Linked DNA regions of Homo sapiens: all the other regions are linked to region 3. The links are contacts of gene promoters, found by promoter capture Hi-C in blood cells and fetal thymus (Javierre and others, 2016). All regions are on one chromosome and are shown on one strand. Each heading gives the region's core, a stretch centred on a gene start or on the middle of the fragment in contact. The rest is flanking DNA. Distances are from core to core; before and after follow the strand shown. Region 1 has its middle 380 kb from the start of MIR4689. Region 2 has its middle 19 kb from the start of LINC01134. Region 3 holds the start of AJAP1 (adherens junctions associated protein 1).

Region 1 (2,700 bases), core at 200-2,699, 830 kb before region 3:
TTGCCCTGATTACTTTGTAGGGCCCTGATTCTCCATGTGTGAAAGTCTCTGAAGTAAGTAGTAATTTGTTCCCCTTTCTGGTAATTGCTGTTTTAGAAATAGCTTCTTCAGACGTCTGCCTCAAATTGGCATTGCCCTGACTCTCTGCGCGCTTGCCAGACGCAGCTGCTGTTTGCACGGCTCCTGCAAAGTCATGGTGCAGAGGCCTGGAGGCAGACAGCCCCAGGCTGCGGAGAGTGGGCTTCTTGCCATCACCTGGTCTAAGGCCTCTGCAGGTAACCCCTGTTTAGGTGCCCAGAGAGAAGAAAGAAGCCCCGTTCCTCTGCCTGCTCCTCTCAACTTTGAGGCTTGTAATGTCAACAGCTGCCAATTTAAGCCTGGGTCTGAGCCCAGCACTGACAATGTGCTGGCTGGACAGGTGGGGGCTGACTAGACAGGTGAGGGCTGGCTGGACAGGTGAGGGCTGACTGCACAGGTGAGAACTGGGTGGACAGGTGAGGACTGACTGCACAGGTGAGGGTTGGCTGGACAGCTGAGGGCTGCTTGGACAGGTGAAGGCTGGCTGCACAGGTGAGGTCTGGCTGGACAGGTGAAGGCTGACTGTACAGATGAGCTCTGAATGCAGAGATAAGGACTAGCTGCACAGGTGAAGGCTGACTGGACAGATGAGGGCTGGCTGGACAGGTGAGGGCTGGCTACACAGGTGAGGTCTGGCTGCACAGGTGTGGGTTGGCTGGACAGGTGATGTCTGGCTGGACAGGTGAAGACTAGCTGCACAGGTGAGGACTAGCTGCACAGGTGAGGTCTGGCTGGACAGGTGAGAGCTGACTGTACAGATGAGGTCTGACTGCACAGATAAGGACTAGCTGCACAGGTGAGGGCTGACAACAGGTGAGGACTAGCTGCGCAGGTGAGGGCTGGCTGGACAGGTGAGGGCTGGCTGGACAGGTGAGGACTAGCTGCACAGGGGAGGACTAGCTGCACAGGTGAGTTCTGGCTGGACAGGTGAGGGCTGACTGTACAGATGAGGTCTGACTGCACAGATAAGGACTAGCTGCACAGGTGAGGGCTGACTGGACAGGTGAGGACTAGCTGCGCAGGTAAGGGCTGGCTGGACAGGTGAGGGCTGACTGGACAGGTGAGGGCTGACTGGACAGGTAAGGGCTGGCTGGACAGGTGAGGGCTGACTGTACAGATGGGGTCTGACTGCAGAGATAAGGACTAGCTGCACAGGTGAGGGCTGGCTGCAAGGTGTGTGTGAAAGAAGTACAGCGGCAGTCCCGTCATGGAAGGAACTTGCAAACAGATTTGAACCTGGAACTTGTATATCACACTTGTCCCAGAGTTGCCCTTTCCTTTAATCTCCAAAATCAAACCATTCGTGCCCCCTTACTGGCTATGCTGCACACCCATGGTTCTTGCTGCTGATTCTCCTCTCTTCTGGAAATGCTCAGCACGTGTCCTCTGCAGGAGCGCTGTGTGGTGATGGGTTATGTCAGCCAAAGGAAACGAATCCAGGAGCCAAAGTGTCCACAGGCAGATGTCAGTTTTGTGAGGGCAGACCTGGGGACCACTGCCGTAAGGGCCTCAGATCAAAGACAGAAGACCACACCCAGCAGAGCCGTGGACAAAGGCACCAACCTAGAGAAGAAAAGTGGTCAGGGCTCTGCAGCTATGTCCTGCGGCAACTCAGCCCCTCAGGGCTGCTGCTGGGGACGCAGTTCTAAGCAGCAAATCTGAGCACGCTCTGCAGCCAACATCCCTCCCATGTCCTGTGACTACTCCTAGGGCAGAACTCCTCACCAGGCAGCCGACTCATCCTTCTATCCATTTTTTAATTAATTCATTCATTTATCTCTCTGCCCACCGTTCCTCACCCGGCGTGTTCATTTCTGCAGCCTTAAGAGCTCCACTTACTGCACAATCCACAATCCACCCTCCGTCAACATTGGCAAGTGACTTGCCCAATGACGGTGTCATCACACAGCTGGTCAGAGGCTGCATCTGGCTTTGAACCCGGGTCTGCTGGCCCCAGGGTCCCTGTAGCCGTCATGATATTTGTCCTCCATTCCTCCCGGAGAGCATCTCCTCCCCTTGGCAAATGCTTGCTAGTGCTTAAGAAAAAGCTCAAAGTGTCCCTTCCTCCATGGAGCCCTCAAGGCCTGCTCCAGGCAGTTTTCACACCTCCCTTCTCAGGCTCCCAGGATGCTCTGTGGTTGCTCCAGCCACACTGATGAGATCCTGTGATTCCGTGTTTGTCCCCTGAGGGCAGGGACTGGATCTCGTTGATCTAGATGTGCTTAGCACCCATGCAGGTCCTGGTATATTGTAGGTACTCAATAAATGCTCCAAGAGTGAATACATGAATGAAAGAATGTGCAGGGATGTCTCTGTGTGCCCTAGAAGGCCCTCCTCTTTGCAATGTGTGTGGCTGACCTTTCCACCCAGTGGGGTGCGGGCTGCCAATGTCACAAGTGGCAGACCTTTTTTTCCCTTCTCCTGGGTAACTGCTGTGAAGGAAGAGTCAGGTGGCCAGGGGCTTCCAGCCACTCCCGGGGTGGCTGTATCGAATCCAACAGAGGACTGCTGGGAGGGGAAAAGGGAATGTGAAGATGCGGGGATCCTTCCTCCTCTCTGAGGGGCTGGGCCTGAGTTCCCACTCACCAAGACTGAACAGAGCATGTTAATCCTCGGTGGCTA
Region 2 (2,700 bases), core at 146-2,645, 740 kb after region 3:
ACAAAGAAAAGAAGGAAGGGAGGGACGGAGGGAGGGAGTGAGAGGGAGAGAAAAAGAGAGGGAGGGAAGAGGGAGGGAGGGAGGAAGGAAGGAAGGAGGGAAGGAAGGAAGGAGAGAAAAAGAGGGGAAGGGGGAGGGATGGAGGGAAAGACAAAGAAAAGGAAGGAAGGGAGGGAGGGAGGAGGGAGGGAAGGGAGGGAAGGAGGGAAGGAGGGAAGGGGAGGGAGGGAGGGAGGAAGGAAGGGAGGAAGGAAGGGGAGAAAAAGAGGGGAAGGGGGAGGGAGGGAGGGAAAGACAAAGAAAAGAAGGAAGGGAGGGAGGGATGGAGGGAGAGAGGGAAGAAGGAAGGGAAGGAAGGAAGGGAGGGAGGGAGGGGGAAGGAGGGAGGGAGGGCGGGCTGGTGGGCAAGCGAGCTAGTTGCTATTTCCAATGCCCTTGGAACTTCAGTGCCCATTGTCAGCCTGAAACCTGCAGAACAGAGCAGGGGAAAGTGCCAGCCAGTGAATACCTGAGGACGGGGGCATGGGTGGCCATGACATGTAGATATGCAGAGTGCACCCAGCCCCATGGCATTCATAGGGTGAGGGGCCCAGAGACCAAGACAGCCCAGGGCTGCAGGCTGGGAGAAGATACCTAGAGCAAGTCCTGGAAATGGAGCTGGTCCTGCGTGGTTAAAGTGCCTCAGGGACTGGACAACTGGGCATTTTTATCACTCCATGGAACTGGGGGCAGCCCCTTGTCGTGCATGGGAGGGGGCTTGCACTGGGTCTTTCCCCATAGGCCTCCTGATCCCTGGGATGTGAGTAGCCACTGTTGCCAATGCTCACTAACCCTAGGCTCCCTGATGTCCCCGACACCTTGCCAACCTGGGCCTTCATCACCAGGCAAAGTGGCCAGAGAGAGAATGTGGATGTCTCAGGAGACGGCCTGTGTGCCCACTCATGAAGAATCGTTTCCTGGAGCAGGGCAGAGCATCCCCTTCCACCGCCACTGTCCTTGAGAAAGGGAGGGTTCCAGACGCAGATGACTTTCAGCCCCTATCTGGAAAAGGGAAAAGACTGTCCCCACAACAGCAGCTGGCACTGTGGGCTGGGGTGAAATGGCAGCATTTGCTGGCCTCCACTGGTGGCCTTCCGGGCACACAAAGGTTTCCTCTGAACCAAGCAGGGGACCCACATGAGCAGCAAAGCCACAAATAGCACTGGGGAGGGCGAGCCCTTTGTAGCGGGTGAATTGCCAATAAAGGTCTGGAGGTGGGAAGGAAGCAACCAGGGTGTCCTGCTGGGAGAATGAGATGCCCTCAGGCACCCTGTCCTCCAGCGCCGCTCGGAACAGCCCTCTGCCTGGCAAGTCCGGGGGTGGTGATCCTGGAAATAAATCCCCTACGCTATTAACCCGGGAGGGCTCTTGGTCTTCTCTGTCTGGTCACGACCTGCCATCACTCCAGCATTCAGGGCCGTTTGCAGCCAGTGTTTTGGATGAGAATTTGACCTGGAATTAGCTCCAGGGTTTCCTGGGAACTCTACTGCGTGAACACAGCGAAGCGCCTCTGCAGGTTGTTTTTCGTCCCCCATGAGCAGAAACACATGAGCTTATTCCAAAAATAAGAAGGTTACGTGCTGACTCCCCACCCCCAGGCAAAGACTTCTACGTTATCCAGGTGTTTTCTGTGGCTCCCTTACAAGGCAGCTCTTCACAAAGAAAGCCTGCCTCAGAGATCTGCCCGAGCCTGGCTCTGTGGGATGTGAGGCTCCATCATATTTGCAAAGCGGCCCTGTATTAGTCCATTTTCACACTGCTGATAAAGACATACCCGAAACTGGGCAATTTACTAAAGAAAGAGATTGAATGGACTTACAGTTCCACGTGGCTGGGGAGGCCTCACAATCATGGCGGAAGGCAAGGAGGAGCAAGTCACATCTTACATGGATGGCAGCAGGCAAAGAGAGAGAGCTTATGTGGGGAAACTCCCCCTTATAAAACCATCAGATCTCATGAGACTTATTCACTATCATGAGAACAGCATGGGAAAGACCTGCCCCCATGATTCAATCACCTCCCACCAGGTCCCTCCCACAACACATGGGAATTCAAGGTAAGATTCGGGTGGGGACACAGCCAAACTATATCGGGTCCCCTTTGGAATGCCAGTGTCCCCATTCACCTTTGCATCCTCCAACTTGGCCTGGCTAGCTCCAAAGAGTGGATGACCATAAGCCAGAGGAAAGGAGGGAAAGGAGAATTCAACCTGTTGAGCCCCATCTATGAGTACATGCCCATCCTGGAGCAACACATGACACATGCCTTGTCACAGAAGGAGGCACAGTAGGCTTCGATGTCTGGGTACCCAGCACACACTTTCCCTACCCTGGGAACCACCCATGCCCCTCTGGCATAGGGGTAACCTCAGGATGGAGCCAACTCCACCCAGCTCCAGTGCAGGCCTGACCCATCAGCTCCGGCAGTCCCCTGGAACCAATGGCAGGGCACAGGACCTCGTCAGAGACCAGGGACCACAGACACACTCCCAGGTGGCTGGAATCTGGGAGGATGCGGGCCCTGGGCTTCGGCCATGTCTTGCCCCGATCTGGAACTTGGGACTGAAGCCCACGAGGAGGTGACAAGAACCAGAGAGGGAGGCTAGACCCCAGGATTTGCAGTTATGAGGCTAGACCCCAGGATTTGCAGTTACGAGATCTG
Region 3 (2,700 bases), core at 149-2,648:
CAGCTGGGTCGGCAGCTGGGAGCCTGGGAGGCCCCTGCTCAGCCCCGGGGCCCCGAGAAAGGAGAAGGGGGAGCGGAGTGGCTGTTTGGCTGTGGTTTCCTCCAACTCCGCCTGCGAAGCTCTCGCTGGGAGCCCGGAGCTTTAGCTTTCCCCGGCAGCCCCGGCCCCCGCGCCCGCCGCGCCCAGCGGCCGGCGCCTCGCCCCGGGCCCCGGGGAGGAGGCGCGCCGGGGCAGCCGGCCAGGACACTGCGCTGCTGGCTCCTAGAGCTGCGGGCGCGCCTGGCCGGCCCCACTTCCCGGGTTGCTGGGGCGGGCGCCGCTGCCCCGACCCCGGACGCGCGGAACCCTGGAGACCCGGCCGCTCCCCGCCAGGGCCGCGGTGCTGCTCCAGGCTCCGGGCGGGCGCCCCTTTCCGGCTACCGGTGCACCCCGTTGCCCGCTTGCGGGAAGCGAAGAGGGGTCCCTTGATTTGCAACATAGAGGAAAGCGCCGCTTCCGCCCAGCCTGGCACCCACGCGCCCACACGCACCCGGCGCCGGCCGGGTCGCTCACCTGAGTCCTAAAAGCTGTTGAATCCACATGGTCACGTTTCGGGGAGCGGGGCCTCAGACCTGGCTCGCCCAGGCCATCTGCGCGGCGCCCGCGCCCGCTCGCTTCCGTCCCGCGGCGCCGGTCTCCGGCTCTCGGTCCGCCGCCTCCCGCCGCCCGCCGGCCGCGGGGCGCACAGCGAGTCAGAGCGCGGCCGCGCGGGGCTCCATGCCGGCCGGCGCGCCGCCGCCGTTGGGGCGCATGGCTCAGGCTGGGCGGCCCGCGGGGGCGCACATCCTCCGGCCGGGGCGCGGGGCTCGCGGCCCCCTCCGCCGGCGGCACAGCGAAGGCGGCAGCGAGGCGGGGCGTGTTCCGGCGCTGTCGCGGCGCAGCAAAGGGCTGGGGAGCCGCGGCTTCGCCCTCCGGGGCGGCGAGGAGGGAGGCCGGCGGCGCTGCCGCTCACGGTGCGTGTCTCCCGGCGCGCGGCTCTTGCCTCCAGCCGGAGCTCCGCGCCGATGGGGCGGCGCTGCTTAGGGTTTGGGGTGACGCGACGCGGACGGACGCGAGTCCCCTCCGCGCTGCCGGGTCGGGGGGCTCTGCCAGAGGCTCCGCCGCCGATCGGCGCCACTCAAGTTGCCCGGGGGCTCCGTCTGAGCGCTCGCTCTGCAGACGGCCGCGGCCCGGAGACTGGCAGGAGGCGGGCACGAGAGGCGCGCGGGGCGAGGGCGCCGTGGAGCGCGGGGCGTGGGGACGCGCGGCGGCGGCGCCGCGCGGAGGAGGCGCGCGGGGATCCCGGGGCCCCGCCGCCCGCGCCCACCGCGCCCGCCGCAGAGCCGCCCGCGCTGCTCAGCCGCCTCCCTCCTCGCGTCTGCCTCTCCGCGCGCTCGCCCCCGCCTCCCGGAGCCGGTCCCAACTCCGCCCGCCCGGCCCGGCTCACGTCACCCGCCTTCCCCGCCCCTCGAACGGGAGCTCGAGCCCCTGGCCTGGCCCCGGCTCCTGCTCGCCGCCCCACCTTGCGGGGGCCGGGGTCGCCGCGGGTGGTGGGGGGCGCTGTGCCCAGCAGGGGCGACAGCGCAGGCGGGGCCTCCTGCAGCCCCCTTCCCCATCCCCGGTCGCGTCCCGGTCCCCACCTTGCGAAAGGCTCGAGAGAGGCCGCAGGCTAGGATTGGACCGCCGGGCGCCGCCGGATGGTGTTGCCAGGGTAACCGGATGGCACGCGAAGCCGTTCGAGGTTCCGACCCGGTTACGGGGGCGCCCAGTGGACCCGGAGAGCTACTTTGGGGAGGGGGCGGCCCCGAAGAAGGACTGGGTGGGGGCGCATGGAGCGGGGGCTGCGCGAAAAGTTTCCTGGGGCGGAGCTGAGCCACGCGGGCCGCGCAGGAGCGTCTGTCCGAGGGTCGCCTACGAGGGACTCCTCTGCTCGGCTGCGCGGGCTTCTGCGTTGATGAAGTCACCGCGTTCCGGGTCGGAGCTTCGGCGCTTCTGCCCCGAACCCAGCGAAGCCCGGTCCTATGCCCCCAATTACCCAACGGTCCCTCATCGCCCAGCGCAGCTGCTGCCTGGCCAGGCCCTTGCTCCGGAGGAGTCACTGGAAAGTTCCAGGGAATCTGGGCCTCCCGGACTCTCCACCGGCGTTTCACTGCTCCCTTCCCATGCCAGGACTCCTCTGTGCCTACCTGGTTAGTCTGTATTTGCAAAAAACAAACAAAAACAACAACAAAAAACAAATGGGGGGCACTTAAAGGAGGACAGACGCTGGGCGGGGACCTTTCACTGAGAGAAGTGACATGGGGCGGAATCCTCTGCAGACCCGCTGACGCCTTGAGAAACCACGGCAAAACCCTGCTTTTAATCCTCCACAGGCTGAGGGCAGTGCAGAATCCGGGCCTTGGAAAGGACACTGGTGCCACCCTTCACTGGGGAAAGGTGCAAGGGGCGGGGGATATACCATGCCGAGCCTTCGCTCTGTGCTCTGTGCAGGTGCTTGACCCAGGCCAGCTCTGGAATCGCCCCAGGCCATGTGAGAGCCGTGGGGGGTGAGAGGGGCGGGAAGCACTTCACAGGTGAGGCCTCCCTGGGAGGGGCAGCCAGTGAGGGGGTGGAAGGGCAGAGCCAGGAGGACCATGGCTTGGGGCTCAGTCTCCCAGGCGAACCATAGCTTGGGGCTTAAGT

The links. Contacts are between HindIII fragments. The CHiCAGO score rates a contact against its expected background, and 5 or more counts as called.
Region 1: a fragment that was not itself captured here is called in contact with the fragment with the promoter of AJAP1 in region 3 in 1 of 17 cell types (naive CD8 T cells); the score reaches 5.6 in naive CD8 T cells.
Region 2: a contact is called between a fragment that was not itself captured here and the fragment with the promoter of AJAP1 in region 3, in 1 of 17 cell types (total B cells). The highest score is 6.6, in total B cells.

Annotation. Positions count from the first base shown.
Region 1 is chr1:5,483,962-5,486,661 of GRCh38, reverse strand. No RefSeq gene overlaps it. Among named protein-coding and RNA genes, the nearest start is that of MIR4689, 380 kb to the left of the region's middle. The HindIII fragment of the contact is 6,615 bases long and covers 1-2,700 here.
Region 2 is chr1:3,917,774-3,920,473 of GRCh38, reverse strand. No RefSeq gene overlaps it. Among named protein-coding and RNA genes, the nearest start is that of LINC01134, 19 kb to the right of the region's middle. The HindIII fragment of the contact is 5,645 bases long and covers 1-2,700 here.
Region 3 is chr1:4,653,307-4,656,006 of GRCh38, reverse strand. AJAP1 (adherens junctions associated protein 1) reads right to left here and starts at 1,398. Exons shown (of 6, transcript NM_018836.4): 1 at 553-1,398. The coding sequence starts at 581. The HindIII fragment of the contact is 10,824 bases long and covers 1-2,700 here.